Linked DNA regions of Homo sapiens: region 1 is linked to region 2. Evidence: promoter capture Hi-C in 16 types of primary human blood cells and fetal thymus (Javierre and others, 2016). All regions are on one chromosome and are shown on one strand. The core of a region is centred on a gene start or on the middle of the fragment in contact, and the rest is flanking DNA. Distances in the headings are between cores, read along the strand shown.

The links. The method cuts DNA at HindIII sites, captures the fragments that hold promoters and counts their contacts. A CHiCAGO score of 5 or more calls a contact.
Region 1: a fragment that was not itself captured here is called in contact with the fragment with the promoter of SLAMF6 in region 2 in 10 of 17 cell types (activated CD4 T cells, total CD8 T cells, total CD4 T cells and 7 more); the score reaches 17.6 in activated CD4 T cells.

The regions. Positions count from the first base shown.
Region 1 is chr1:160,603,812-160,606,511 of GRCh38, reverse strand. No RefSeq gene overlaps it. Among named protein-coding and RNA genes, the nearest start is that of CD84, 26 kb to the right of the region's middle. The HindIII fragment of the contact is 1,383 bases long and covers 653-2,035 here.
Region 2 is chr1:160,521,891-160,524,734 of GRCh38, reverse strand. SLAMF6 (SLAM family member 6) reads left to right here and starts at 1,480. Exons shown (of 8, transcript NM_001184714.2): 1 at 1,480-1,591. The coding sequence starts at 1,543. RefSeq lists an enhancer at 1,646-1,695. The HindIII fragment of the contact is 3,138 bases long and covers 1-1,851 here.

The DNA.
Region 1 (2,700 bases), core at 95-2,594, 82 kb before region 2:
TGACTTTATCTCACAGGGTTCCTTGGGGAGGGCTGCCAGTGGGATTGGGGAAGGGCCACAGGGAGAAGGAAACTTCCAGCTGAACTTTGTAATAATTTTGACTGAGTACGAATTGTCCTGGTCAGGATCTGTGGAGATGAATAGAAAGTGCAGATATGAGCACAGAAGCCACAGCAGGCAGGGAGGGGTGAGGCCTGAAAGCCCTGCTTGCCTTCTCAGCAGAGAGGCTAGTATCCCAGGGCAACATCCCAGCCCTGCATACCAGAGGCTTGGATATAAATTTGGCTCTTTGGGGAGCATGGCAGGAGTGAGACTGGCCTTGCTGGCTGTGTGGGAGTGGGGAGAGGCCTGTCACCACTGGCTTTCCCCCACTTCCCTGGCTACCTGTACAAAGCAGCAGAGGCAGCCATAATCCCCCTGGGAACATAACTCCATTGGCCTGAGAACCACACCCCCATACCGCACAGTTGCCACAGCAAGCCCTGTCCAAGGATAGTCTGAGCTCAGACATGCTCAACTCTGCCCCCACCTGATGGTCTTTTTCTGCCAGCCCTGGTAGCTGAAGACAAAAGACATAATCTTGTGGGAGCCCTATGGCCCTCCCATCACCTGAGAAACCCAAATACTTATCCAGGTGACCTTAGGGCAAGCTTGTATTCCCCCGTACTGCTGCAGCTGATGCTCTCTTGAAATCGCCACCTTCTGGCTGGAGGCCAATCAAGTCAAGCCATTATAGCAACTCATAACAAAATAGCCCTGCTCCAAGGAAGGAGAAAACAACAGCTAATTCCACCACTTGTAACGTCCTGGCTAACCAGAGGTCCTGAGTCTGTCCATGTGACAACTTCACTGTTAGCATAACCAGCATTTGAGAAAACCTGTGCACTAAACAAAACTACAACCAAGGACTCTCACAGAATCCACTTCACTGCCCTGCTACCTTCACTGGAGTAGGTGCTCGTATCCGTGGTTGAGAGACCTGAAAATAGATCACAACACAGGACTCTTTGCAGACACTCCCCAGTACCAGCCTGGAGCCTGGTAGGTCCACTAGGTGGCTAGACCCAGAAAAGCAATAACAATCACTGCAGTTCAGCTCTTGGGAAGCCCCATCTGTAGGGGAAAGGGGAGAGCACCACATCAAAGGATCACCCTGTGGGACAAAAGAATCTGAACAGCAGCCCTTGAGTCCTAGACCTTTCCTCTGACATAATTGACCCAAATGAGAAAGAACCAGAAAAACAATTCTGGCAATATAATTAAACAAAGTTCTATCACACCACCAAAAGATCACACTAGCTCACCAGTAATGGATTCAAACCAAGAAGAAATCTCTGAATTGCCAGAAAAAGAATTCAGAAGGTTGATTATTAAGCTACTCAAGTAGGCACCAGAGAAAGGTGAAAACCAACTTAAAGAAATTTTTAAAATAATACAAGATATGGACAAAAACACTGTAAAGAAATAGATATTATAAATAAAAAACAATAAGAACTTCTGGAAATAAAAGACATGCTTAGAGAAATGCAAAATACACTGAAAAGTTTTAACAATAGAATGGAACAAGTAGAAGAAAGAACCTCAGAGCTCAAAGACAATGCTATTGAATTAATCCAATCTAACACAGACAAAGAAAAAAGTTTTTTTTAATGAACAAAGCCTCCAGCCAATTTGGGATTATGTTAAATGACCAAACCTAAGAATAATTTGTGTTCCTGAGGAACTCAAAGAACACCCAGGAAATTCATTGCAAAAAGATAATTACCTAAACACACAGGTTTAGGTAATCTAAACCATCAGGTTATCTAAAGTCAAGATGAAGGAATGAATCTTAAGAGCTGTGAGGCAAAAGCATCAGGTATCCTATAAAGGAAAACCTATAAGATTAACAGCAGATTCCTCAGCAGAAATCCTACAAGCTAGAAGGGATTGGGGTCCTATCTTTCATATCCTTAAACTAAGTAATTATCCTTACTTTAGCCTCCTTAAAAGAATAATTATCAGCCAAGAATTTTGTATCTGGCAAAACTAAGCTTCATATATGAAGGGAAGATAAAGTCTTTTTCAGACAAGCAAATGCTGAATGTATCACTACCAAGAGAATTTGCCACTACAAAGTCAGCACTATAAGAACTGCTAAAAGGAATTCTAAATCTTGAAACAAAACCTCAAAATACACCAAAATAGAACCTTCTTAAAACATAAATCTCACAGGACCTATGAAACAATAACACAATGAAAAAAAAAACCAAGCAATTCAGGCAACAACTAGCACAATGAATAGAATAGTACCTCATATCTCAATACTGACATTAAAAGTAAATGGCCTAAATGCTCCACTTACAAGATCCAGAGTGTCAGAATGAATAAGAATTCACCAACCAAGTATCTGCTGTCTTTAAGAGACTTGCCTAACACATAAGGACTAACATAAACTTAAGGTAAAGGGGTGGAAAAATATATTGCATTCAAATGGACACAAAACTGAGCAGGAGTAACTATTCTTATATCAGACCAAACAGACTTTAAAGCAAGAATAGTTTTAAAAGACAAAGAGGGACAATCCATAACAATAAAAGGACTAGTCCAGCAGGAAAATATTACAATCCTAAATATATATGCATCTAACACTGGAGTTCCCAAATTTATAAGACAATCACTGCTAGATGTAAGAAATGAAATAGGAACACAATAATAGTG
Region 2 (2,844 bases), core at 231-2,730:
CATGGGCAAAGACTTCAATACTAAAACATCAAAATCAATGGCAACAAAAGCCAAAATTGACAAATGGGACCTAATTAAACTAAAGAGCTTCTGCACAGCAAAAGAAACTATCATCAGAGTGAACAGGGAACCTACAGAATGGGAGAAAATTTTTGCAGTCTATCCATTTGACAAAAGGCTAATATCCAGAATCTACAAAGAACTCAAACAAATTTACAAGAAAAAAAAAAAAACCCCAACAAAAAGTGGGCAAAGGATATGAAGACACTTCTCAAAAGAAGACATTTATGCGGCCAAGAAACATATGAAAAAAGCTCATCATCACTGGTCATTAGAGAAATGCAAATCAAAACTACAATGAGATACCATCTCATGCCAGTTAGAATGGCAATCATTAAAAAATCAGGAAACAACAGATGCTGGAGAGGATGTAGAGAAATGGGAATGTTTTCACACTGTTGGTGGGAGTGTAAACTAGTTCAACCATTGTGGAATACAGTGTGGCGATTCCTCAAGGATCTAGAACTAGAAATACCATTTGACCCAGCAATCCCATTACTGGTTATATACCCAAAGGATTATAAATCATGCTGCTATAAAGACACATGCACACTTATGTTTATTGCAGCACTGTTCACAATAGCAAAGACTTGGAACCAACCCAAATGCCCATCAATGATACACTGGATAAAGAAAATGTGGCATATATATACCATGGAATACCATGCAGCCATAAAAAAGGATGAGTTCATGTCCTTTGCAGGGACATGGATGAAGCTGGAAACCATCATTCTCAGCAAACTAACACAAGAACAGAAAGCCAAACAACGCATGTTCTCACTCATAGGTGGGAACTGAACAATGAGAACACATGGACACAGGTAGGGGAACATCATACACTGGGGTATGTCACGGGGTGGGGGGCAAGGGGAGGGATAGCATTAGGAGAAATATCTAATGTAGATGACAAGTTAATAGGTGCAGCACACCAACATGGCATATGTATACATATGTAACAAACCTGCACATTGTGCACATGTACCCTAGAACTTAAAGTATAATTTTAAAAAATCAGTTTTCTTTTGGCTTTTTCTTAGCTTTATACTTAAATATTTTTTTCTAATGTAATTAGAGTGGAATTGTTTTTTGAATTTTATTTTTGGATTACTCATAGCTAGTATATACAATTGCAATTGAATTTTATATTTTGATTTTGTATCTTTTCACCTTGCTGAACTCATTTATTTGTTCTAGTAGATTTTAGGAAATTCCTTACAGACTTTTACATATAAGTTTATGAAAGATGCAATAAAGGACTTTATCTTCTTTTCCAAAAAAAAAAAAAATTTGTGCACTTAGCTCAGAAAAAAGTAAACAAAAAATTAACACAGTTACAAATTAGGATTTTTAGTGCAGGGGAAGAAGTTGTCACCACGCCTCTAAGAGGAAGGGGAAGTCTCAGAAGTATTTTCAGTTTATGACAGAAGGGCAAAAACATTGACTGCCTCAAGGTCTCAAGCACCAGTCTTCACCGCGGAAAGCATGTTGTGGCTGTTCCAATCGCTCCTGTTTGTCTTCTGCTTTGGCCCAGGTAAATGTCAATCCAGATCGGTGTAGTCACTGAGTGACTCCCTGGTTTTGTGCAGCTTGCTCAACCTAAATCGTCTGTATACAGTTGTCTGGCTCTCTGCCAAGGGATTGGGGCGGGAAAGGGGACGCTGGCAGTGTTACCTGATATACTACTACCTCCTCTCAACTTTGGATGCGATAAGCCTGAGATGGTTGTCGGTGAACAATTTCAATTGTGTCTGCATGTAAGAAAGTTATTTGCTGGGGCAGAGGAAATAAGCTTTTGAAGACAAGACTGTTTGTGGTTTATGACCAGCATCTTGTGTTATAAAGAGTACCAAGACCAAGAAAATGGGCCCTCATACCAATGTATCTACTATCGTACTGTGAACCTCAGGGAGGTTACTTATCCTTCCTGAACCTCACTATCCTCATCTAAATTATTAAAAACCTATTATTCAGTTGAGCCAAATTTTCTGGGCCCAACCAAACACACCAAAAATAACCCTCTCACCTTTTGCTCATTGCAAAAAAAAAGGTTTCCATCTCTCCCCTCCTTTAGTGCAAATTAGGGCTAGCTAGTCCAGCAATGCATTATATATGGCAGTGAGAAAAGAATGAACTGATCCAGCTGGCTTCTTGTTTCCTGCTGTCCATTATATGGAGAAGATGAAGATTCATATCACATTTGGGGAACTACAAGTGGTCCACGGGAGACAAAGTGTAGCATTCAGGCAGAGATAGTCCAGGAGACCAATGGAAATCTAGTCCAGAGCTAGCCCAGGGTAGCAGATAAAAGTAGGAAGCATTCACTGAGCACTTATTGTATTTCAAGTATTGTGCCAGGTGCTGTACACACGTTATGAGTCTCATGAGAATTCTATGAATTTATACTATTAATATCTCCATTTTAAAATGAAGAACTGAGGTGAACTTAATTTAAATAATTTGCCCAAATTTCATTAGCCAGCATGCGACAAGCTCTTGTAATAGTTATGAGAAAAAATAACAGTTCAACAAGTGTGGCAGCAGCATAAGAGAAAGAAGAGACTGAAGCAAGAGATCCCATCAATATGGAGTTAAGTAGAGTAATTGGTAATTGGAATGAGAAAGGAATAAATATTCATTGAGCACCTACTGAATGCTTGGCACTCTTCTAGTTTGCATGAATACATCATGAACAAAGCAAGCAAAAATTCCTGCCCTCATGGAGTTAACATTTTAGCAGGAGACAAACTGTAAAAAAAGATAAACAAGTAAAATAGTGTATTGGGT